Linked DNA regions of Homo sapiens: regions 1 and 2 are each linked to region 3. The links are contacts of gene promoters, found by promoter capture Hi-C in blood cells and fetal thymus (Javierre and others, 2016). All regions are on one chromosome and are shown on one strand. The core of a region is centred on a gene start or on the middle of the fragment in contact, and the rest is flanking DNA. Distances in the headings are between cores, read along the strand shown. Region 1 has its middle 73 kb from the start of KIF14. Region 2 overlaps KIF14 (kinesin family member 14). Region 3 holds the start of CACNA1S (calcium voltage-gated channel subunit alpha1 S).

The links. The method cuts DNA at HindIII sites, captures the fragments that hold promoters and counts their contacts. A CHiCAGO score of 5 or more calls a contact.
Region 1: a fragment that was not itself captured here is called in contact with the fragment with the promoter of CACNA1S in region 3 in 1 of 17 cell types (endothelial precursors); the score reaches 5.4 in endothelial precursors.
Region 2: a fragment that was not itself captured here is called in contact with the fragment with the promoter of CACNA1S in region 3 in 1 of 17 cell types (endothelial precursors); the score reaches 5.2 in endothelial precursors.

Annotation. Positions count from the first base shown.
Region 1 is chr1:200,545,384-200,549,809 of GRCh38, reverse strand. No RefSeq gene overlaps it. Among named protein-coding and RNA genes, the nearest start is that of KIF14, 73 kb to the left of the region's middle. The HindIII fragment of the contact is 775 bases long and covers 1,501-2,275 here.
Region 2 is chr1:200,562,915-200,567,931 of GRCh38, reverse strand. It overlaps KIF14 (kinesin family member 14), which reads left to right. Exons shown (of 30, transcript NM_014875.3): 24 at 2,263-2,487; 25 at 2,679-2,863. Among named protein-coding and RNA genes, the nearest start is that of KIF14, 55 kb to the left of the region's middle. The HindIII fragment of the contact is 1,216 bases long and covers 2,236-3,451 here.
Region 3 is chr1:201,110,375-201,115,190 of GRCh38, reverse strand. CACNA1S (calcium voltage-gated channel subunit alpha1 S) reads left to right here and starts at 2,765. Exons shown (of 44, transcript NM_000069.3): 1 at 2,765-3,003. The coding sequence starts at 2,852. ASCL5 (achaete-scute family bHLH transcription factor 5) reads left to right here. Exons shown (of 2, transcript NM_001270601.2): 2 at 1-1,248. The coding sequence ends at 439. RefSeq lists a silencer at 589-638. The HindIII fragment of the contact is 9,593 bases long and covers 1-4,816 here.

The DNA of each region.
Region 1 (4,426 bases), core at 639-3,138, 560 kb after region 3:
GGAGACTGTCAAACAAACAAAAAACCAAACAAAAAACACACACTACACTCGAACATACAGGAGAACCACCAGAGAATCGCTGACTTATTCAAGACAGAATTCAGGGGTAAACTTTTGATTAAGCAAATGGCAACTGGAAACTGCATATTTCCTGTTGCTGAATGGTCCTAAACTCAGAGAATCATAGGTTTTTTAAAGAATTTAGCCGAGCACGGTGGCTCACGCCTGTAATCCCAGCGCTTTAGGAGGCCGGGGGTGGGTGGATCACCTGAGGTCAGAAATTCGAGACAAGCCTGACCAACAAGGTGAAACCCCGTCTCTACTAAAAATACAAAAATTAACCAAGCGTGGTGGCACGCGCCTGTAATCCCAGCTACTCAGGAGGCGTAGGCAAGAGAATCGCTTGAACCCGGGAGGCGGAGGTTGCAGTGAGCTGAGATGGCCACATTGCACTCCAGCCTGGGCGACAAGAGTGAAACTCCATCTCAAAAAAAAAAAAAAAAAAAGAATTTAAGAGCGATTTTGTGGTAAGTCACAGGCTTTCGTTTCTCTGGCTAATATTCAGTGAAAACCTCTGAATTTGTCTAAAGAGCGAGCATCTGCCCATTAGGGGGCCTCATTTTCACGAAGAGCAGATTGTGCTGTCCACTAAGAAGATGGAGAATCTCTGAAATTTGGAAAATGGATATCGCTTTCTATGGCCCTACATCCCCCTCTTTTTAAAATGGTGGCTCACGTCTATAACCCCAGCACTTTGGGAGGCTGAGATGGATGGATCACGAGGCTAAGAGATCTAGACCATCCTGGCCAACATGGTGAAACCCTGACTCTACCAAAAAACACAAAAATTAGCTTCGCCTGTAGTCACAGCTACTCGGGAGGCTGAGGCAGGAGAATCACTTGAACCCGGTAGGCAGAGGTTGCAGTGAGCCGAGATTGCACCATGGCACTCCAGCCTGGCGACAGAGCAAGACTCTGTCTCAAAAAAAAAAAAAAATATATATATATATATATATGTGTGTGTGTGTGTGTGTGTGTGTGTGTGTGTGTGTGTTTACGGGCCAAGCACGGTGGCTCACACCTATAATCCCAGCACTTCTGGAGGCCAAGATGGGAGGATCACTTGAGCCCAGGCATTCGAGACCAGCCTGGCCCACATAATGAGACCTGGTCTTTATTTAAAAAACAAACAAAAAAAGAGCAGGCATGATGGCTCATGCCTGTAATCCCAGCACTTTGGGAGGCCGAGGTAGGCAGATCAACTGAGGTCGGGAGTTCAAGACCAGCCTGATCAATATGGTGAAACCCCATCTCTACTAAAAATACAAAATTAGCCGGGCGTGGTGGCACATGCCTGTAATCTCAGCTACTCGGAAGGCTGAGGCAGGAGAATCACTTGAACTTGGGAGGTAGAGGTTGTGGTGAGCCGAGATGGCACCATTGCACTACAGCCTGGGTGACAAGAGCAAAACTCCGTCTCAAAAAAAAAAAAATAAAGCTTTTTCCCCAGTTTTATTGAGGTGTAATTAACAAATAAATTGTGTATATTCAAGGTGTGCAATGTGATGGTTTGATATACAAACACATTGTGAAATCATTACTACAATCAACACATTCATCACCATATCACCATATGTAGTTACTATTTGTGAATGTGCGTGTAGGGGGTAAGGACACCTAAAATTTACTCTTAGCAAATTTCAAGTATACTATACAGCATTATTTTTTTTTTAATTTATTTTTTAGATGGAGCCTCACTCTGTCACCCAGGCTGGAGTGGAGGGGCAGGACCTCGGCTCACTGCAATCTCCACTTCCTGGGTTCAAGTGATTCTCCTGCCTCAGCCTCCTGAGTAGCTGAGATTACAGGTGCCCACCACAATTCCCGGATAATTTTTGTATTTTTTAGTAGAGACAGGGTTTTACCATGTTGATCAGGCTGGTCTCGAACTCCTGACCTCGTGATCCGCCTTCCTCGGCCTCCCAAAGTGCTGGGATTACAGGCATGAGCCACCGCGCCTGGCCTACTATATACAGTATTATTATACACCTTGCTATACATTAGACTCCCAGAATTCATTCTTCTGATAAATGAAAGTTTGTATAATTTGATCAGCATCTCTCCATTCTCCTCACCCTACCCCCAACCCCTGGCAAACAGCCTTCACCTCTCTGCTTCTATGAATTTGACTTTTTAAGAATCCTCACACAAGTGAGATCATACAGTATTTGTCTTCCTGTGTCTGCTATTTCACTTAGCACAACTTCCTCAAGCTTCCTCCACGTTGTGACAAGTGGCAAAATTTCCTTTTTTAAGGCAGAATATTCCTGTTTGTGTGTGTGTGTGTACGTGTGTGTGTGTGCGTACGTGTGTGTGTGTGTGTAACATTTTCTTTATCCATTCATCCATCAATGGACAGATGGACAGTTAGGTCGTTTCCAGATCTTAGCTATTGTGAATATTGCTGCAATGAACATGGGAATGCAGCTATCTCTACAGGGTGCTAATTTCATTTTCTCTGGGTATATACCCAGAAGAGGGATGGCTCAGTCATATGGTAGTTCTATTTTTAGTTTTTGAGGAATCTCCATACCTTTTTCTATAATGGCTATACCAGTTTACATTCCCACCAACAGTGTACAAGGGCCCCCTAATTTCTTTTTTTCTTTCTTTTTTTTTTTTTTGAGACAGAGTCTCACTCTGTCACCCAGGGTGGAGTGCAGTGGCATGATCTCAGCTCACTGCAACTTCTGTCTCCCGGGTTCAAGCGATTCTCCTGCCTCAGCCTCTTGAGTATCTGGGGTTACAGGTGCGTGCCACCACGCCTGGCTAATTTTTGTATTTTTAGTAGAGACGGAGTTTCACCATATTGGCCAGGCTGGTCTCAATCTCCTGACCTTGTGATCCGCCCTTCTCAGCCCCCCAAAGTGCTGGGATTACAGGCGTGAGCCACCTTGCCCGGCCGGGTCCCCTATTTTCTACATCCTTGCCAACATTTACCTCTTGTCTTTTTGATCACAGCCATCTTAACAGGTGTGAGATGAAATCTCATTGTGGTTTTGGTTTGCACTTCCCTGATGATTAGTGATGATGAGCACAAATTGCGATGCCAGATATTTGCCCATTTTCTTCTCCCTTTTTGTCTCTCCAGCCTCCTGTTTTGGGTGCTGTGATGGGTGATCACCATTTTCCCCTCCTTCTCTCCCCAGTCACCCCACTGCCCTCTGCCTCAACTCCCCCAGCTGAAACTGCTCTCACCTAGGTCATCAGTTAACTTTTAATTACAAAAGCCAAAGGGATTTTTCAGTCTTAATCTCACTTAATTGCTCCCTTTCTTTGGAAATTCTTTCCTCTCATGTCTCCACAGTAGAATATGCCTGAGTTTTCTGATTGTTCTTTTTTCATCTCTTTCATGAGCTTCTTATTCTCCACCAGGTCTTTTAAATATTAGAATTCTGTGTGTTGGTTGAACAAAAATGTATTGTACTTGAGAGATGGATACCCTGAGTACCCTAAGTTACTTGTCACTACGCATTATATACATGTAACAAAATGTCATCTGTACTCCATAAATTCGTACAGAAAAATTCGGTGCCCAGGCCGGGAGTGGTGGCTCACGTCTGTAATCCCAGCACTTTGGGAGGCCGAGGCGGGTGGATCACTTGAGGTCAACAGATTGAGACCATCCTGGCAAACATGGTGAAACCCTGTCTCTATTAAAAATACAAAAATTAGCTGGGCGTGGTGGTGTGCACCTGTAATCCCAGCTACTTGGGAGGCTGAGGCAGGAGAATCACTTGAACCCGGGAGGCAGAGGTTGCAGTGAGCTGAGATTGTGCCACTGCACACTGCACTCCAGCCTGGGCAACAGAGCGAGACTCCATCTCAAAAAGAAAGAAAGAAAGAACGAAAGAACGACAGAACGAAAGAAAGAAAGAAAGAAAGAAAGAAAGAAAGAAAGAAAAAGAAAGAAAAGAAAGGAAGGAAGGAAGGAAGGGAGAAAGAAAGAAAAGAAAGAAAGAAAGAAAGAAAAGAAATAAATAAATAAAGAAAGAAAGAAAGAAAGAAGAGATAAGAAAGAAAGAAAATTTGGTGCCCAGTGTGACCTTTTCCTTGCAGTCTCCTTACTTTCCCTAGAGATCAATGCATAGTGAAGCTGTTGAGGGCGTGGATTCTAGAGGTTCTGCTTCTTACTCCCTACCTCTCTGCTCACTTCCTTAACTCTTAGAACTTCTGTTTTCTTATTTCTAAACTGGTACCTTGAGGGTCATGGCTTTGAGGGCTAAGTGACACGACACCTCACAGACACAAGCACTTAGCACAGAAAACCCGATGCATGATAACTCAAGAAATGGTGGCCATGATTATTAATTTTATCTCCTTGAGTGATGTAACCACTGTTTATAAGCTGATACTCCCAAATGCA
Region 2 (5,017 bases), core at 1,594-4,093, 550 kb after region 3:
CTCTACTATAGTCATTATCATCATAATGATATTGAGTCATCGTTACCCTACTGTAGCTTTGGGTTTTGTAGCTTTTTTTTTTTCTCTTTACAAACCAAACTCTTACCTTTGTTCTAGTTTTTTAATATTCCTCATCCTATGCCTTTATTCTACCTCCTTTTAGTTTGCTGCTTTTAAGCACCTATGAAGTAGACCAGAAAACTTAATCTTGTCTATTAAATAAGAATAATTATACTCAATATATTAGGACTCCAGGATAAAGTTATTTCCAGAGGCTCTGAATGAGTCAAGCTTCTCATTTATTTCTGGTTTAGACAGTGCTTAGAAAATCCATCCCTCACAGATGTGCTGTATTAACTGTAGATAATCAGTTGGTTTTAGCCTTTTTTTTTTTTTTTTAGACGGAGTCTCGCTCTGTCTCCCAGGCTGGAGTGCAGTGGCGCAATCTCAGCTGCGCCTCCCGGGTTCACGCCATTCTCCTGCCTCAACCTCCCGAGTAGCTGGGGCTACAGGCGCCTGCCACCAGGCCCGGCTAATTTTTTAAAAATATTTTTAGTAGAGACGGGGTTTCACTGTGTTAGCCAGGATGGTCTCGATCTCCTGACCTCGTGATCCACCTGCCTCAGCCTCCCAAAATGCTGGGATTATAGGCGTGAGCCACCGTGCCCGGCCGGTTTTAGCCTATCTTGATTGTAGTATACCTCAAGGAGAAACTATTGTAAGGTAGAAGTACTGAGACATTATGGTTTTTTTTTTTTTGAGGACAGAGTTTCGCTCTTTTTGCCCAGGCTGGAGTGCAATGGCGCGATCTCGGCTCACTGCAACCTCCTCCCAGGTTCAAGTGATTCTCCTGCCTCAGCGTCCCAGGTAGCTGGAATTACAGGCGCCCACCACCATGCCTGGCTGATTTTTCATTTTTAGTAGAGACGGGGTTTCACCGTGTTGGCCAGGCTGGTCTTGAACTCCTGGCCTCAGGTGATCCACCCACCTTGGCCTCCCAAAGTGCTGGGATTACAGGCATGAGCCACTGTGCCCGGCTGAGACACTACTTTTAATGTAGTTTATCATTGCCTACTTTTCCAGTTTATGAATCCAATTATACTTCTAATTTTATGTAACTGTCATTGTTTTCATCAATTACAGTTCTTTAGGGAAAATTAATCCCACCAGACATAGTGGTACATGCTTGTTGTCCCACCTACTGTGGACGCTGAGGCCAAGGGATTGCTTGAGCCCAGGAGTTTGAGGCTCAGTGTGCTATGATCACGCTTGTGAGTAACCACTGCATTCCAGCCTGGGCAACAGAGCAAGACCCTGTCTGTCTCTCTTTTTTTTTTTTGAGACAGAGTCTTGTTCTGTTGCCCAGGCTGGAGTGCAGTGGTGCCATATCGGCTCACTGTAACCTCCGCCTCCTGGCTTCAAGCAATTCTCCTGCCTCAGCCTCCCGGGTAGCTGGAACTACAGGCGTGTGCCACCACGCCCAGCTAATTTTTTTGTATTTTTAATAGAGATGGGGTTTCACCACGTTAGCCAGGATGGTCCCGATCTCCTGACCTCGTGATCTGCCTGCCTCGGCCTCCCAAAGTGCTGGGATTACAGGCATGAGCCACCGTGCCTGGCCCAACCCTGTCTCTTAAAAAAAAAAAAAGAAAGAAAGAAAAGAAAATTAATTCCTACCATAGAGTAAAGAAAGAGATTAACCCAGTGGTTACGTGGGATATTTGGATTCTCTATTGTCTCATAGTATAGTCAGGGAGCTACTAAATCTATGGATTGATGCGGTTGAGAGGTTAATTGATCCGTGAATGGAATTGTGTTTTCACTTTAGCATATAGAAATGAGGCTGAATTGAAATAAGTATAGCCTACTTTGAATTTATTGATCAGTGATCCTATAATATGCTTGCAATAAAACATTTGTTTGAAAGTATTATGCCTGAACATTTTTGGAAGAGCAATAGTATACGAGTAATATTTGCAAGCAGCAGAGGGGTAGTTTCTGCAGAATTAGCATTATGGAGCACCCTGGAAATCAACATACACAAGTATAGCATGGAAGATATACTTACAAGTACAACATAGCATACGATGTTATATATACTAATAGTTTTGTTTTTCTAATTCCACAGTGAACACAAAAATGCTTTGTTGTTGTAATACATTTCAGTAATGCAGAAGTACATAAAGTAAGGATCCCTTTTTTTAAAAAAGAAAGTATTATTCCTGAAAACAAGCTTAAAATGGCTATTTTCTGTTGATGTAGGTTTAATGGACAAATCAAGCACTATTTACTCAAATTCAGCAGAGTCCTTTCTTCCTGGAATTTGCAAAGAATTGATTGGTTCTTCGTTAGATTTTTTTGGACAGAGTTATGATGAAGAAAGAACTATAGCAGACAGCCTAATTAATAGTTTTCTTAAAATTTATAATGGGCTATTTGCCATTTCCAAGGCTCATGAAGAACAAGATGAAGAAAGTCAAGATAACTGTAAGCAATCTCACTGCTTTTGTTAACTCACATAAATGATTATTTTCTGCACATTGCACTTTGTTTTGAGTGATTATTTGGCACATCTGGCATGCATCTTTTAACTGTGTTAAATGTTTTAATGATGATCATATATGAGTTCTTTTATTTGGATAATATTTCATTCAGTAATTTTTCTTCTTCTTTCAAAGTGTTTTCTTCTGATCGAGCAATCCAGTCACTTACTATTCAGACTGCATGTGCTTTTGAGCAGCTAGTAGTGCTAATGAAACACTGGCTGAGTGATTTACTGCCTTGTACCAACATAGCAAGACTTGAGGATGAGTTGAGACAAGAAGTTAAAAAACTGGGAGGCTACTTACAGTTATTTTTGCAGGTAAATTGATTTGCTTATTATCATTTGAAGGATTCATTTAATAATTATTTATTGGCTTTCTACTGTCTATATCTTCCCCAAAATTAGCTCTGTATGATTTTCAAAAGTACATTCTGTTTTGAAGTTCTGAGACTGTGGTTGTCTGTAATTGATTTGTTAAACAAAGACTTACATGGCTCTCTATGTATGAGTAGTTCTAAGTGATTTACAAATATTAACTCATTTAATCCTTATAACAACCCCAGCAGTGGGCACTGTTGTTATCACCATCTTGTAGATGAGGAAATGGAGGCACAGGGAAAATAAATATACCATCCAATGTTACCTAACTAGTAAATGACTGAGTTGGATTTGGACCCAGGCAGTCTTGGGCCCAGTTCATGCTCTGCCATTATACCATGCTGGCCCTCAATAAGGGATACTGGGAAGAGAGACAGAGTCTTTCTCTGGGTATGGGATTGGATTTCAACTCAGACTGAATTGGCCACAATTCTGCTGACATAGAGACAAGGAAATAATTTTGTTTTCCTGCTTATCTTGTATCAGATAAGATTAGGTTTGGCTGTAAGAAGAAGTAAGATGAAAGCTTATTCTCTCTCACATAAAATCTAGATGTAGACACAGTGGCTCTGATCCACAGAGTCCTCAGGATCCAGGCTCCTCCCATTGGTCCCATCCGCCATGCCCAAAGTGTAGCCCCTGATTTCATGACCCACTATGGAGGAGCCCCATCTGAGCTCAGCACAGCAGGGTGGAAGGAGTGGTGAGAAGGATAGGGCAAAGTTTGCCTTTTTTTTTTTTTTTTTTTGAGCTGGAGTCTCACTCTTGTCACCCAGGTTGGAGTGCAGTGGCGTGATCTTGGCTCACTGCCCCTCTGCTCCTGGGTTCAAGCGATTCTCCTGCCTCAGCCTCTCGAGTAGCTAGGATTACAGGCACTCACCACCATGCTCGGCTAATTTTTGTATTTTTAGTAGAGATGGGGTTTCACCATGTTGGCCAGGCTAGTCTCGAACTCCTGACCTCAGGTGATCCGCCCCCCTCAGCTTCCCAAAGTGCTGGGATTACAGGCATGAGCCACTGCGCCCGGCTGAAGTTTGCCTTCTTTTAAGGGAGGTTTCTGGAAATCACCATATGCCACATCTATTTATATATCTGGCTAGAATTTTATCATTTGACTACATCTAGCTGCAAGTATCATGAGGAAATGTATTTTTTAAAAAAATTCTGGACACCTATGTGCCAAGCCAGAAATCAAGGGATCTGTGGAAGAAGTGGAAAATTGATATTGGAGAATACTTAGTCATCTACCATATTAACAAATTCCTTCTTAAAAATTCCTTGATATGCAAAAGGAGCAGATAAGAAATTAATGGCCGAGTACAGTGGCTCATGCCTATAATACTAGGACTTTGGGAGGCTGAGGCAGGAGGATCAGTTAAGCCTGGGACTTTGAGACCAGCCTGGGCAACATAGTGAATAATAACAAATATCCAACTTGTTAGATACTTTGTCTCTAAAAACATAAAAAAAATCAGCCAGCTGATTTTTTGGTGGCATGTACCTGTGGTCCCAGCTACTTGGGAGGCTGAGGTGGGAGGATTGCTTGAGCCCAGGAGTTCGAAGCTACAGTGAGCCATGATTGCACCACTGCATTCCAGCCTGGATGACAGAGTGAGACCATGTCTCAATAATAATAACAAAAAGTAAACTATTTAAAAAAAGAAAATACTAAGAGGGTTAGATTTCACTTTTAAAAAAGGATAATTAGACCATGTAATAAAATGTTATAGAACAATTGAACAAATTTTATGTTATAGTGCCCACCGAAAGACTTTCCACATTCTATTATTGCAGTAGAATTTTTGTTGTGTCAAATACTTCCTGAATGGGCTATTTACTAGCTGGGATTTGGAAATCTTTAACTGATCTAACTAGTAAACTTGAAATCAGATGATTGTTTTTAATGTCCGTTGTTCTCCCTCAGGAGGATTTTCTAGGTCTCCCCAAGACTTGGTTAGGCACCTGTCTTATTTGCTTCTCTGATAACCCTAAACTTCACCCGTTATGACTTTTAATATAACATACTATTTATAAGCCTGTACATCTCAATGGACAGTTAGCTCTAAGAAGGTAGAGGACAGTGGGTGTCTTTTT
Region 3 (4,816 bases), core at 1,516-4,015:
GGGGGTGTTCCCCTACGTGCCCTTCCCCGGCGCCTTCGGGGTCTACGAATACCCCTTCGAGCCAGCCTTCATCCAGAAGCGCAACGAGCGCGAGAGGCAGCGAGTCAAGTGCGTCAACGAGGGCTACGCTCGCCTCCGCGGCCACCTCCCCGGCGCCCTGGCTGAGAAGCGACTCAGCAAGGTGGAGACGCTGCGCGCCGCCATCCGCTACATAAAGTACCTGCAAGAGCTGCTGAGCTCGGCCCCCGACGGCTCGACGCCCCCCGCTTCCCGCGGCCTCCCGGGCACCGGGCCCTGCCCCGCGCCGCCCGCCACCCCCCGTCCCGACCGCCCTGGCGACGGCGAGGCCCGGGCGCCCTCCTCCCTGGTGCCGGAGTCATCCGAGTCCTCCTGCTTCTCCCCGTCGCCTTTCTTGGAGTCGGAGGAATCCTGGCATTGATCGGGCCTGTGGCCGCCCCCGGCTTGGAGGATGATCCGCCGGCCCCGTCCCACTTTCGGGAGCAGCGGGAGGCTGTTGGGTCACCCGCGATGCGCCGCAGGACGGTGACTGTAGGAGGTCCGCGGCGCTCCCGTGTCTGCGACACCCTCCCTCCTCCACCAGCTTGGGGCGGAAGTGCAGGGCAGCGGGTACGATGGGCACGATAGAGACCTAGGAGCTCCGTGGGTGAAGCGAGGGGCAGGGCCTGGGACTGCTCCGGGCGTCCTGCGTCCCCTCCGGGGTGCAGAGGGGCTCCCCAGGACGGTCATCCCTGGGTCTGGCTCCCGCTCGGCCTCAGGTGGCTCTGCTCCGTCCTTCCTTGCCGCAGGCGCAGTCCAGTCTCTGCGAGTCCCCGGGATGCGAGCCCGACTTTGAGCCCTCGGTTACCATGCCACTGCTCTCCACCAGATGGCCTCAGATACTAGCGACTTCTTTGGGAGCACGCTTACTCCTCGAGAAAGGAACCCAGAGGAAGGGATGGGAGGCCAGATTGCTGCTGGCGCTCAGCCCAGACCGAACCTACAGACTCAGCAGAGGCGACCTGTGTGCCCCGGTGGCGTTCTCTGGCTTCCTGGGTTGGGAGGGGGGGTTACTCCCTCCCCGCATCCCCCCCATGAGGTCGTCTAGTTTTGTCCCAGGTTGGGTGGGGACTGTGGTTTTTTTCCCTCAGACTGTAAGCCTTGGGGGAGGGGGGCGTGCATATAGGTACATAGGCACTGCGTCGGCACCAAAGAGCTAAATAAAAGGATTGTTGAATTTTCTCATTCCTAGATCATTGTCTACCCTCACCCTTCCTGGTGCCCCTTTCTTATTCTCACTCCCAGCCCAGAGTACTTGCTGGGAGGATATGTGGGGTTCGCTGTTAGCTCAGCACATTTAAGATTCAGTGTTGTTAGCTCAGGCGTTCAATGAATTTTTTTTTTTTTTTTTTTTTTTTTGAGACAGGTTTTGCTCTGTTGCCCAGACTGGAGTGCAGTGATTCAATCCCTGCTCACTGCAACCTCCTTCTCCTGGGTTTGAGCAATTCTCCTGCCTCAGCCTCCAGAGTAGCTGGGATTATAGGTGCACACCACCACGCCCGCTAATCTTTGGTATTTTTAGTAGAATGCGGGTTTCACCATGTTGGCCATGCTGGTCTCGAATTCCTCACCTCAAGTTATCTACCTACCTTGGTTTCCCAAAGTGCTGGGATTACCGTGGCTATCCTCAATGAACTTTTCTTTTTGAGACAAGGTCTCACTCTGTCTCACTCTGTCATCCAGGCTGGAGTGCAGTGGCCAGATCTTGGCTCATTGCAGCCTCAACCTCCCAGGCTCAACTGATCCTCCCACCTTGGCCCCCCTAGTAGCTGGGACTACAAACACACACCACCATACCCTGCTAATTTTTGTATTTTTTGTAGAGACAGAGTTTCACTACGTTGCCCCGACTGGTCTTGAAGTCCTGAGCTCAAGCCATTCTCCCACCTCAGCCTCCCAAAGTGTTGGGATTACAGGCGTGAGCCACCATGCCTGGCCTCAGTGAACATTTACAGGGAGCATAGTACATAGGGGGACTGTGCAGAGAAGGGGCCAGAGTCCCAGAGATAATGCACACAACCTTTACACCTGTAGGGATGGGAGGAGATGGGGAAGAAAGATACACAGCAGATGCTCCACAGTGAGGCAGGTGCTATGCCAGAGGTGTGCACACTCAGGGTTGTTCTGGGAGCCTTCTAGCCCACTGGAGAGGGGTTTACTGTTTCTCTGACATGGGATTGCTTGTGGGGGTGGGTTGAGGGTATGCTTGGGGAGTTTTGGCTGATGGTGCAGATACTGAGATGGGTAGGGGCTGCTGTGGAGCTGTCCTGACTTAGGCTGCCCAGTGCCTTCTCCAGACAATGTCATGGGGCTGAGGAGGGGTAAGCCTAATTTTGGCATGAGGGGGCCACTCTGCAGTTTGAGGTTCCATATCCAAGGCTACCTATTCCTGACCTCTGTTGCCCCAGGCTTGAAACCTTCCATCCTGTCTCCCTCTCCCACTGCCCCTGCCCCATCCCAGGCCTGTGTGTAAGTTCTTCCCCCGACCCACCCCACCCTCCTCAGGGGACAGATTGGGAAGTCACTGGCTGGGCTGGGTGGAATGACAGCTGCCTGGCCTCAGAAGCTCAGGCCCGGCAGCGGGGAGCCGAGTGGAGGCTAATTTTACTTGCTGGGAGCGAGGAGAGTAATCCTCCTGCCCCCACTCCTGCCCCCGCCCCCTGGCTGGCTCAGCAGGGCAGGCTCAGCCGACAGCCTCAGCCAGCCTAGTCCCCAAGGCGGGGGCATTGGGGACACAGGGAAGGGAAAGCACTGGGGTGGGGGAGCAGGAGAAAGCCAGATTCCCAGGGAAGCCATGGAGCCATCCTCACCCCAGGATGAAGGCCTGAGGAAGAAACAGCCCAAGAAGCCAGTTCCTGAGATTCTGCCAAGGCCACCCCGGGCCTTGTTCTGCCTGACCCTGGAGAACCCCCTGAGGAAGGCCTGCATCAGCATTGTAGAATGGAAGTATCCTTCAGGGCCCGGGCCGTGGGGGGGGGTGTGCGTCATGAGGGAGGGATTCGGGGTGATCACAGAGCACAAACTTCCTACAGGAGGGCCAGGGAGGCCTGGCACTTAGACATGGGGTGAACTCACAGAATTGAGTGAGGAGCTGGGGGAAGGAGCCCTCGGCTAAGCAGGAGAGGAGGAGGAGGAAGAGGAGGAAGACGAGGAGGGTGGGGGAGGAGGAGGAAGAGGAGGAGGGTGGGGGAGGAGGAGGAAGAGGAGGAGGAGGAAGAGGAAGAGAAGGAGGACTTGGTGGGGCTTCCTGGGCCTGAGTGGGCCACCCAAGTCCTGGATGACAACCAGAGATGCCTACTGACCACCTATGGGTGGGGCCTGTTTCATGGGGACTGTTCCCATGTGTGCCCAAATCCACATTATCATGGGGTGCCACTAGGTTTTTGAAGCACCAGCCTCATTTTAGAATAGGATAGGGACCAAAAAAAGATGCGATGGCCTCTTTGAGAAAACTCTCCCTTGTTTGGGTTGGGTGGGGGGTGACAGTGGACAGAGGTGAGCTGAAGGAAGGCTTCCTCTGGGGGCAGGTCCCAGCTGAGGACAGAGCCAAGGGGAGAAATGGATCTGAAAGACACCTGGTCTCAGTGGCTCCAAGACACAGGCCAAACAAGCCTGGTTGTTCTAGCTCAGACGTGCCACCCTGGGGACAGGGACTTTGAAACTCATGCTATGTTTGCATTTGCTCTGGTGGGGAGAATGATGAAAATATCTGGGTTATTTGGGGAAGGGAGGAAGGAGTGACAGAGAGAAGGGGAGGGCTGTGTCAAGTGGGTTCTGAGAGCGAGGGTGGGGCATATTTGAAATATTTCTGAAGAGTTCTGGAAGGCTGGGCTCCTACCAGCTGTTCCCTAGAAGGAAGGAGAATGAGGGATAACTGGAAGGACAAGAGAAACGTGGGGCAAGTAGAGATAGTTTGGGGTCAGGGTCAGCCCTGTTCCCCTGACCCGCTCTCGGCCAGGCGGTATATCGCCCACATCAAACCCTCCTAGGCCCTCCCTCCTTGCCTCTCTTCTGCAATCAGGTTTACTCTGTGGGTTCTCCCTCTCCTCCATCCTCTGCTCCTCTGCGCCCTGCCCCTGTGGCCCTCCTCTTTTCTCAAACACTGGAGGTTACTGGGAAGAGAATGGGATTTTTCTGTCAAGCCCAACTACGTAATATGCCTCCCCATCCACCCCCAAACAACTCCCTCGCTTCCTCCCTTGCTTTCTCTAGCTCTTTCCAGACTTGCTGCCTAATGGGCCAGAAAGTCGAGAAAGCCATGGGCCTGGGGTACCCTCTGGAAATGGCTGTGGCGGGGTGGGTGTGTCTGGGAGGGGTGAGGTGTGATGGGTGTGAGCACGTGCACACCAGCATGTGCACATGGCTCTGGAAATTCAGCATTCATCTCTCCATCTCTCCTTCCCAGTCCTACTCAGTGAGTTCTCAACCTTACCCTGCATCAACCCTTACCCTCCCATGCCATTTATCTGGGTAAGCCTCTGTGGATTGGCCAGAATCTGCCAAAGTCATGGCTCCTTGGGAGCAGGCAAGGGCATGGACAGGCGCTGAGAGTGGAGCGGTGTGAAGACCCCCTAGGCCTTAAAGCTGAGGAGCCCTCAGCCAGGGACCAGACCTTTGCCATTCCAAGGAGTCTACATGAAAGTGACTTGTTCCTGAGGAGAGGGAGCCAGAGGTCAAGGCAGGAACCTGGTCCTCACTGTACCCTGCAGGGGCTCAGGGAAGGAGCAGCGTGGGCGAGCGTCCATGAGCCTGTCCAGCA